Regions from separate parts of the Homo sapiens genome. Here all the other regions are linked to region 3. The links are contacts of gene promoters, found by promoter capture Hi-C in blood cells and fetal thymus (Javierre and others, 2016). All regions are on one chromosome and are shown on one strand. The core of a region is centred on a gene start or on the middle of the fragment in contact, and the rest is flanking DNA. Distances in the headings are between cores, read along the strand shown.

The links. The method cuts DNA at HindIII sites, captures the fragments that hold promoters and counts their contacts. A CHiCAGO score of 5 or more calls a contact.
Region 1: the fragment with the promoter of SLC7A11 here is called in contact with the fragment with the promoter of NAA15 in region 3 in 1 of 17 cell types (erythroblasts); the score reaches 7.6 in erythroblasts.
Region 2: a fragment that was not itself captured here is called in contact with the fragment with the promoter of NAA15 in region 3 in 5 of 17 cell types (fetal thymus, total CD4 T cells, non-activated CD4 T cells and 2 more); the score reaches 12.0 in fetal thymus.

Annotation. Positions count from the first base shown.
Region 1 is chr4:138,240,273-138,244,150 of GRCh38, reverse strand. It overlaps SLC7A11 (solute carrier family 7 member 11), which reads left to right and starts at 1,802. Exons shown (of 12, transcript NM_014331.4): 1 at 1,802-2,358. The coding sequence starts at 2,082. RefSeq lists enhancers at 1,548-1,787, 1,257-2,456. The HindIII fragment of the contact is 788 bases long and covers 1,622-2,409 here.
Region 2 is chr4:140,374,743-140,378,410 of GRCh38, reverse strand. All of the region lies in intron 1 of SCOC (short coiled-coil protein), which reads right to left. Among named protein-coding and RNA genes, the nearest start is that of SCOC, 2.9 kb to the right of the region's middle. The HindIII fragment of the contact is 6,823 bases long and covers 1-3,668 here.
Region 3 is chr4:139,299,921-139,303,425 of GRCh38, reverse strand. It overlaps NAA15 (N-alpha-acetyltransferase 15, NatA auxiliary subunit), which reads right to left and starts at 1,921. Exons shown (of 20, transcript NM_057175.5): 1 at 1,595-1,921. The coding sequence starts at 1,648. NDUFC1 (NADH:ubiquinone oxidoreductase subunit C1) reads left to right here and starts at 949. Exons shown (of 6, transcript NM_001184989.2): 1 at 949-1,010. RefSeq lists enhancers at 1,871-1,930, 2,411-2,530. The HindIII fragment of the contact is 1,328 bases long and covers 1,029-2,356 here.

The DNA.
Region 1 (3,878 bases), core at 553-3,052, 1.1 Mb after region 3:
TTATTTATAACAAAATTTAAAATTAAAGTGTGACACTGTGTTAATTAGAGAAAGTTGCTGTTCCCTGAGATTCCTAGTGTCCTACTTTTACCTCATATTTCTTCAGAGCTAATATGTTTCTCTTACTGGGAAAGAAGAGCTGCTCCTTAGGTCCATTAATCAGGAAAATTGTGTGAGTGAAAGGAGATGTAGGAGGAGGAAGAGAATTGGAAAGAAAAGAATCTCTATTTAGCTTCCTTCTTTGGGAGTTTTAGCAGGATTGCATGAGGAAAATGATCCATTTTTGTTTTTTGAAAGACATTAACAACTGAGAAAAAGTATTTATTTTGGTTTTATAAAAACTTTAACTTGGTGTAGCTGAAACCAATTATATAGAATTTAGATAGATAATTTAAAAAGGAGAAAATGTAGCCTCAATTATTTGGATGGCAAAGCATTGAGGTGGTGTCATTTTCTCAGGTGTCAACATAACAGAAAATGGTTCTGACCTTTTCCATGCTACTTTCCTAATGGCGATTTCTCATTTCTTTCTTTGATCATCCTCACCATACTTGACTCCCTTCTTTCCCTGCCAACCTCTCGCACACAGGCTTTTTGTTTGTGGTTTTTGTTCAAAGGTTCAGAAGCTTATTTAATGGTGCGTATAAAGGTAGCTTCAGGGTAATGATAACATTCAATTCTTCTCACTGAATCCAAAACCACATGTAACTATAGCCAAAAATGATATCTAGGATTTCTTTTCTTTTCATATTTGTTTTTTCTTGACACTTGGTTGAGAAAGTTAGAAGGGTTTAAAAATGTTTTGCCTTTTTGACTATTGCAAAGTAAATATTTTAATTTAGCTTACATTTTTAATGCATTTTAAATTTATAATAATAACAATAGTTTATATAATGTGGAAAAAAGTCATACATAATATCATTACTTTCTATAACTACCATTCTGTTTTCCTTTACAGGCTTTTGCTATATACATATTTTTATGTAATTGTAATTGTGTAATTTTGAACTTAGAAATTTTTTTTGGTAATTCAAAGGAACAACATGACAATGAAGGATATGTATCTTTTACATAGTTCAAAAAAATCACCTAGTGCTAATGAGAATCAGAAAATGACTATTTTCTGGAGTCATGGTGAATTTTGTATTAGTCACACTCGGATGGTGATTTAAAATACTGGTTTATTATGAGTAGTAAGAAATAATTTTATCTTTTAATGTTGAGGAAGGCTTATAGTTGTGTGTATGTGACAGAAGTATAAAGTGTAGAATCTTTAATTTTGTAAATATTGGATTTGACTGTATTGCCTTATAAAAAACTCAAAATAAAAAAATAAAAAGCATTACACAAATTATGAAATTCAAACTGTGTTGTTATAAACAATGTAGCTTTAGGATACATTCTACTCACAAAACAGTCGCATGTAAAATGTTTTTATACACGCATTAAAGAAAAAGAAACTCCTTAAAATGAAGTAACTATTTCCTGTTTCATTTTGTTTGAACAGCTTTTGTTGCTCACTACGAGTTGCTTTAAATCTCTGGGAAGGTCTGTTCCGAATTTACTACTTCTGGATTGGCTAAAATCTCTTTAAAGTGTGTGCTTTGTTCTCTAAAAAGCTTAGGTCAGTTGAGCAACAAGCTCCTCCTGTTTTTTTCTTTTTTTAAAAAAAAGAGCTGAGTAATGCTGGAGGCTTCTCATGTGGCTGATGCAAACCTGGAGAATTTGCATCATCATTTAGCTGTAGTAAGTTGGTGTGACAGGCAGGCGCTTAAATACAAGCCCATGAGGAAGCTGAGCTGGTTTGTAATGATAGGGCGGCAGCAGCAGCAGCAGCAGCAGTGGTGGAACGAGGAGGTGGAGAATTGAGAGCACGATGCATACACAGGTGTTTCTGAGTAGTAATTAGATCGCTGTGAAGGAAAAAGCACACCTTTGAGTTTTCACCTGTGAACACTATAGCGCTGAGAGAGACAGTCTGAAAGCAGAGGAAGACATCGATCAGTAACACCAAGAGACACCAAAGTTGAAAGTTTTGTTTTCTTTCCCTCTGTTTTATTTTTCCCCCGTGTGTCCCTACTATGGTCAGAAAGCCTGTTGTGTCCACCATCTCCAAAGGAGGTTACCTGCAGGGAAATGTTAACGGGAGGCTGCCTTCCCTGGGCAACAAGGAGCCACCTGGGCAGGAGAAAGTGCAGCTGAAGAGGAAAGTCACTTTACTGAGGGGAGTCTCCATTATCATTGGCACCATCATTGGAGCAGGAATCTTCATCTCTCCTAAGGGCGTGCTCCAGAACACGGGCAGCGTGGGCATGTCTCTGACCATCTGGACGGTGTGTGGGGTCCTGTCACTATTTGGTGAGTGCGACTTTTTCTCTCGTGGGGGCGTGGCTGTGGGGCTGGAAAGCTTGCTTTCTGGGAAAGCAAATGGTAGTTTTTGAGGAGTGAATGGATGGCAAAGGCCACACCAAATTTTTAAAATTTTTGTTCGGGTACGTGAACTACCCAGATGCAGCATCCGCTGTTGGTGTGATCTGGAACACCCTCAAATTGCTTCCTACAGGCTGTACTTTCTTTTCCTGACTAAGACAGGCTATCTTCTGACTTTTCTCTGTGGTGATGAGAGCAAAGGCTAACTTTCATGACCCAGTAAAAAACATGCACACTTTCTGTGCCGGGCAGTTGTACACTTAGCTTGGGCATTCTGGCAGCTGGCATGCTGAATGAGACACCTGTGAAGTGGAACCTGGCATGGGCTATTTAGACATAGAACGGAGTGTTCAGCAGAAGTCTTACTGACTTTTTATTAGCCAAACAAATGGGTGGCAGTCTTTATAAAAATATTTTTTAAGTTCATGTGCTTGTCACCTCTTAATATCCTTTCAAAAGTCCTTGACATGGGAGAGATGTATGATGGCGCATAACTCAATCCCTATCATAATGGGGTATATTGCAATGGCCTGAGCATATTTCAAATTACTTTTCAACCTTTCATCTCTTCTCAATACCCATACACTTTTGCAATATAAGTTTTAAAACTTCAGTTGGGCGTTAGTTTTCTGTACTTGCCCAGATCTGTTTTTTTCATTATATTTCACTTGTTCTCCAGGGACACAGAGAATTTGTCCACCTGTTCACTAAATTAATCTGAAGGGAACTGGCAGAAGTATAATTATGAATTTTTCTTCAAAGTTTATGTCTCTTCTATTGATCTGAGAATTAATAGTAAAGAGGTAAATAAATGCCCCCTTATGGAGTAGGCAAATTACTAGAGAGCTACCTGAGTTTGTTGTAAAGATGATAAAAACTGGTGAACTGTCAAACATTAAATTTGATTTATGCTATGAGGATTTATTTACTCTTCTTGGGAAAGATTCTGTACTTTAAAGTTGCTCTTTGTCTTAACTCTGGGACTAACACTAACTAACAAGTACTAACGCTAACTCTAGGACTAATTAACAAGTACTAACTCCTGTTCCCATGTGTACCAATCAATTCATTCTTTCTACTCAGGCCTTGTGATGTTTTAAATCATTGGTTTGACACTCATCTAGAGAACTCAAATTCCATTTTTTTTTTTTTTTTGAGACAGAGACTCGCTCTTTGCCCAGGCTGGAGTGCAGTGGTGTGATCTCGGCTCACTGCAACCTCCGCCTCCCAAGTTCAAGCAATTCTCCTGCCTAAGCCTCCCGAGTAGCTGGGACTACAGGTGTGTGCCACCACGTTGGGCTTATTTTTCGTATTTTTTAGTAGAGATGGGGTTTCACCATGTTAGCCAGGATGGTCTCGATCTCCTGACCTCGTGATCCACCCACCTCAGTCTCCCAAAGTGCTGGGATTACAGATATGAGCCACCGCGCCCGGTCCTCAAATTCCAT
Region 2 (3,668 bases), core at 632-3,131, 1.1 Mb before region 3:
TTGTATATTCACTGATGTAAATTATGTGAAATATATATAAATATGCATAAAAAACATGAAAATGAAAAAATGCTCTGATATTAAGGATGACGGTATGGATGAAGATAAAATTGTTTCAAATATTCTTCTTCATTAAAGTATTGCTTTACATATACTGTTTAATTTTTTACAAATAAAATTCAAAAGATAAATACTAGACCATCTAAAATATTAATATGGAATAAATGAAAAAATGTCCATTCATCAGCTCCTAGTCAGGGTTAAATCAAAACAGACTAATCAGGATGTAAATAAGTAAATAAATACTAACATTTTATTATTACAATGAAGACTTCTAAATATTAGAACAAAAAATTTCTATAAAACATGTTCTGCTCCATTGCTAACAATCATTTCATTCAATATGTTCAAAATATATTAAATAATGTCACCAGATTATTACTGAAAACAGATTTGTTAACCAATCTAATCTACTACATTGAAGCAACCTAGACCTGTCAGTGTTATTCTTTCAACAAGTATTTACTGAATATCTTCTATGCCCAAGGCATTGTTATGCCTCCGTATCTTAAACAGTAGAAAGCAGACCTATTAAATAAGGATATCTACATACTAGAACTAGAATCACAATAGAGATATCAGTGTATTACACATTCTCTCACAGCTGTTAATACAAATCTTGTTGTACTTCAGATACTAACATGAAATTTGAAAATGCCCAGTGTACATCTACATAAATCCTGTTACACTTTAGATACTAACATGAACTTCAAATTAAAATGCCCAGTGTACATATACATAAACTTCAAGTTTATAGTTCAAGTTAGATAGCACTCACTAGTCTAGAAAAAAATATGAAATATCCCTTGTATAACATTATTAAATAATTAACTACAAATGGTATACAATTAATTTAATAATGCTGAATAAACCTACTCCAAGTCTTCTAGCATCTGTCCCCTTATCTAAACCGCATTTAAAGTTGCTCTGCCCGACCTCTTTTTCACATTATTTAATTCTCAGGTTCTCTGCATTTCAGATTACTAAAATTTTTCCAACAATTCTTTTTTTAAAAGTTATTCAGCCTACTGTAGTATTTAAAGACCACACTCCAAAAACTATTCCTCTCCATTGAATCAACATGTCTCTTTAACTATAATTGAAGAGGAAGAGTGTCAGTGAAAACTTGATTTGACATTTCCCTGACAGAGAAGCACACCTGTAACCAGGTACTACAGTCATTCTCTTTTCATACCATTTCAACCACTGATCCAGCTAAAAGAGGTCTGAGTAAGATGAGAGAGGCAACAGCCAAAAGCAAAAGTGATCGTGGGAGTGCTCAGCAAGAGTAAGCTGCAATTTGGCATCTGTCTTTGCTAAATAATAAATTAAAAGTGCTTCAAATTTCTCATATCCAATGATTTTAAGGCTACAGCTAGAACGAATTTTCATGATAGCTAAGAAGAGTTATAAGATATACAAGCCAAAGCAACAGATAATCAGAAAATCGACACAGCTGATTTTGAAGTCAGATATAATACAGTGATAGGGTAGTCTTCTTTTGCTTATGTTTCAGACTAATATTTAAATTAAACCAAAAAGTCTGCAAAAACACAAGTATTCCAAACTCACCAATATAAGAGGTAAAGAAAAAGAAGCCAGTTTCTGAAATTCTGACCACATATAATTCAAACAATAGAAAACCTATGCATGGTTTAGCAACAGTGTGACTTCATCTGAAAAAGTGAAAGAAAATAAAAAGCAGAAAAACAGGGTGGAGAGGGCTTATTAAAGGAAAAATTACTCTTACACTCAAGATTAGGGTAGAGGCAGGAGCACAAAAGTAGTGCCACAAGAACAGTGCTATAAGGGTATACAACGCGAGAGAGCACAATTCACACCACAGTCTACGTAAGATTGCATCCCAAGTGTTGCACAGTGAAAAAACCGCCCACTGTATCTGGCAGCCCTACGCATAAGGGCATTACTCTTTAGTACAGTGGACCACAGCATTACCTGCTGCCTTTCCACGACAAAAGAACAAGAAGCAATTGTATTTTATTGTGATGTGATCAAATAGACCCATCTCAAAATGCTACTATTGTATTAATATATATTCAAAGTCTTTCAGTAGATTTAGGGCAATAAACTGATTTGTTTGACATATGGGATCAAAAGACTTGCTGAGTTCTTTATGTCAAAGTATTTTAGCCATGGATTTTTTCTTTTAAAATAGTATTGATCCCCAAACTGCCCAAAGTCTACATTAACACAGTACTACATCATAACAGATACTTAATACTGAGCTTTTCAAATTTTTCAACTATAAAATCCTTTTTTACCTATAGTTGCTATAACATCAATCTAATTCCATGTCAAATATGCTCTTAAGAGTTCACTTTCAACTCCTTCTGCTCCTATATATAAACGCAAATCTGATGAAAAACGAGAAAATTAAGACCAAGTCTGCTCAAGCGTGGGAACACTGAAATGAATTTGGGGCGCTGAGGCTGCTCTGCCTATCCTAAACCACCTTACCCCAGAAATGGACATGGTTCGCTGAGATTCTTCAGCTCTGATGTATGGCTAGGTCAGACCTTTCAAAGGTTTCTCAAAAAACACAGTAAATTCGGGTATCTAGCCTTGGTTAGTGGAAGGGAATCTAGAATTACTTTTTTGATTATTTAAGTCCAGGAGGCAGAACGCATAGAGAGAATACAAACCAGGAAATGTGGCAAACATTGGGACAAGATTCATTTAATTAAATAATTTTTGCCATGCACACACACCTGTGACCAAAGACGATCATCTTACCAAATATGCCCCTATCTTATTTTACAGTTATCTCTAATAGTGTACAATATCCACAATATCACTCTCCTCAAGAGGCAGCCTGGCACAATGATTAACAATATGGATTCAGATTACCTGGATTCAAATCCTAGCTCTGCAATTTATAAGCTCTGGAACCCTGGGCAAGGTTAACACCTCGGCCTTAAGTTTCCTCATTTGTAAAATGTGGATAATAACCGTACGTATCTCATGGGTTTGTTGTGAGAATGAGTGGATAGATACAATGTGTTGGCAACAGTACCTAGTACATAGTAGGTATTCAATAAATGTCTGCTATCGTCTTCTCTACCTTTTAGCTCTAATTTGGGCAACAGAAAGAATTTAAAGAAAACCATCTGGTCCAGCTGCTTCATTTTACAAAATCAAGGCCAAAGATGACAATGGCTTACTGAAGACCACAGAAGTAGTTAGCAACAGGGCCAAGACTACAACAAATGCCCAGTGTTTTTTCCACCATTCCACCACAACTATTGTCACATCTGAGCCTGCAGATTTTGAGACTTTTTCCTAATACCCGTCCATCTTCAGCCACTCAACTTTTCTGCATCTAAAATTGATTTCACCATCTGTCATACTGGAGAACTACTAAGACTGCTAAAATAATGTCTTCGTGCATTAATGTGCTAAATGCTTTGCATATGTTATTTCATCAAATCAACAGAAGGAAACTGCAATTTACAGATATGGACACTAAATTTCAGAAAGTCTATATATCTTTCAGAAAAGCTGTTTCAGAGGTTTCACAGCCAATGTCTCTACCAAGAATTTGAACCCAGGTCTAACTTCACAGTCCATGCTTTTTCCATTATGCAATG
Region 3 (3,505 bases), core at 672-3,171:
ATATAAGTAAAGGTTTATGAGTGTTCCTTGTTCTCTCAACTTTTCAGTTTCATTTTTTTCAAAATAAAGAATTGTGAAAAAGAGATTAAAGATAAATTGCTATTCTAAACTTATGTTACAGTTCTACCTGCACACCAATTAGTCTTTTTAAGGGTTTAAAAGTAACTTTTTTCCTAAAACTATTTTACAGCTCCACCTACACTCTTAGTCTTAAAACAAAACAAAATTCCAGTAAGAATTTCAAGGTAACAGTTTTGCGACACTGCATGTGACTTTCTAATGTTTTTCAAAATGAATTCACTAAATCTGTAGGGCATATGGACACTTTTGTAAAATCAAAGTTAGTTCAAATGGATGATTATTCATTTCTAGAAAAACTGAATCCCCAGAGTTGTTCTACTTTTCAAACAGGTGAAATAAATTATAACTGCGGGGGAAAAGGCTAACACTTTCACACACACATCCCAAATTTTAAAAGTCTTAAATTTGGCAAATACAGTTAATTCTATCATAAGGAAACGTTTGCGTGAAAGGGGGAACCCACATACTAAATGCCAAACAAAAAATGTGCTACAATGTGTTAATTATAGCTCCAAGGCTACAGGACATATTTTACAATGTAAACAGTCCCTGCAAACATCAATGCATTTATGGTTTAAAAAAATACAAACTGCACACATTTGAACCGTAGGGAATAAGTCTGAGCTAGCGTCAACAAAATCCATCTCAAAAGTTCTTATATTCTCATTTCTCTGGTAAGTTTTTGCATGTGTTAATATACTTCAGTGTATAAGAAAAGTCTAGGTCTGCAACGTTTCAACTAAAGACTCAACTTTTTACTTCCTACCGAACCGCCCCCTCGCAATGGGCCCCACCTCCCGAGAAGAGTGACGGGGTGGGGCTGTTTCCCGCTCGGAAACTAAGAAATAAATGCCTCATCCCTACTCCAGAAACGAGAACAACGGAGGCAGAGGAGCTGAAGACTCCAGTATGCAACTGACTACAAGGAGGTAGTCGTTTGAAAAGCTTTCTTTCCTTCTCTGAACTCCTTCTTTCCCTCCTCTCAGGTCATTGGGTGACCCCGGGCCGGGCGGAGACAGGTGAATCCCAAGAGAGGAGGAAGAGGGAGGGACAGATGATGGAGGGAGAACCGCGTTTAGGCAATGAATGAGCCTGCTGCATCCGCACCACCTGTTCCTTCCAAGGGTGCCACCCCGACCTGCCAGCAGGGTTCCCACACCAACCGGGCCGCGACTCCTGCCGGTGTCGCCCACTTGCCCGCCAAAGGCCGGGCCTCTTCTCCCCCAGATCGGGGAGAATGAGAACCGGCAGTCTAGAAGCCGGGAGGTCGGGGCCTAGTCCGGAACCAGGGCCTCAAGCGTGGGGATGGAATGAAGAAGCCTGTGGTCCCTGGCGCGCGGGCCATAGTAGGAACCACAGAGAGGGAGCAAAGCAATGCATTCGGCCTGACGAGAGCTATGAAGGCGGGGTCCCGGGCGGGAGTGGCTCAGTGCCCGCCGGGCCGAGGTTAGGGGTGACAGGCCCGGTTACCGGCTAAATCCTCCCCACCGCTTGCCCGGAGCCTCACACTTACCAAGATCCGCTTGAAGAGCGCATTCTCCTTGGGCGGGAGGCTCACGGCCGGCATCGTTCCGGCTGCTCCCGCTGCTCCCGCCACCACCCGGCTCGGTCAGTCAGTTTGTCCGACCGCCGCCGCTGCCGTTCCGTAGCTGCTTCAGCCTTGAATATCTCGATCCGCCGCCACCACCAGGCCTCGGGTGTCGCCGCGTTGCCCTACCCGGACACCTCCTTTTTCCTCGTTGTCTTTTTTCCTTTCTCACTTAACGCTGCCGCCGCCTCCCCCACTACGGGTCTCCGTCGGCGGTTCACGTGGTAACTGAACAGACCGACAGAGGCAGCCAAAATGGCGGACGCGGAGGGTTTTCCCACCCGGGTCACGCTTCCTAACACGCAGGCGCGGTGACCTCCTTTCCCCACCTCCTCTGGGTTTCGGAGCTTGCCGGGAAACCTGGAGGCTGGCCTGCCTGTGGAGGCCGGGAGGGTCGGGGCAGGCCCCGCCCATCATTTCAGTGCGTGGTACCCTCGAAGCGCCCGCGGAGCTACGGGAGGCTAGGCAAGTACGGTTCAGACCGCCTCCTCATCAAAAACAGCCTCTCTGGCGCCTTCCTGCTAGATCGACCTTTCATTCCTTGGAAAGAGTCTCGCACACTGTGTGATCATCGTTTGAGCCCAAAGTGCTAAAATACAGGTGTAGGTGTTTGAGAAGCGCTGTAGTTGATTATGGACGAAATGCCTAATTTAAGGAGCAGAGGCGGAGTGGAAAATGAAAAAAGCTTCACCGCAGTGGAGACTTGTTAACAGCCCTGGGGAGAAAGGGGCTTAACAGAGTCTGGAAATCGTGAAAGAGCTTGACCGATGAAATGGGCCTGGCTGTCGTATCGGTAATTTGGTGAATGTTGCTTAAGATCAGCCTGGAAAGGTAGTTAGTCAGATCCGAAGTGACATATTTGCACTGCCAAAGGAGGCTCTGGAGGTTAAAGTATGTGTTTTAATTTCGTTGTTGAGGCCATATAATGCAGAGTTGACGGACCGACCTTATGAGTCACCTTGGAGCGGAGTAGTGGAGACTTAAAGACAGACTACCCTGGAGCTGGCTTCAAACTAGTTCTTAATATTGTGACTCGAACTCCCCATCCCCAGAAATTCTCAGATCTTAGAAGCCAAAGACTGGCAAGGATACTAGAGGGAACTACTCGAGTAGGCGAGGTCAGACTACATACCGAATAGGAGTCCTTCCAAAAATGTAAGTCATTTCATTAACAGCTGACCGTAAAACTTTTTCAAAGTGGCATTCCATTGATCTAAAAATTTTCAAGTTATATGAGCCACTTTTAACCTTTGGTTTTTGATTACCTCTTTCCAAATCCTGATTTCACTCTGTAGCATTCTTTGCATCATGAATTATTAAACAATATGTGCGTGTTTTTTACTGTTTTAAATTTATTTGCAAAGATATTTTAATTTTCAAACTTCTCTTAACTGTCCCTGAAAGGTGTGAGTTGAGATACATGTTTCCCAATATAAACTTGGGTTTTGTAGCTGCTATATTGATTGTCCTCGCCCTTCACCGGGGTCATAAATAAGGTTTTTAACAGTCAAATCCTGGAGTTTCCTTAAATTCTGTGATCTCTCTTCAAAAGTTTGAGAAAAATCATATATACAGGAAACTATGTTTCAGTTTGAAATATGGCCAGTATTTTAACCTTAACTTTATAAAACTAAGAACAAGCTTATAATTCATTTTTAAGCTGTTACTTAGTAATAACCTGCAAAATTCACTGCCCCAAGAGATCTTTCAACTGTCTGAACTATTGAAAGACAGAAAAAATAGTCTAAATGCAGTTGATAGTTTTAGCTTGGATTTCCAAATCTCTGGCTTCATATCCAAATTTCTGGCTTCATATCCAAAAATCCCTACAGCAAT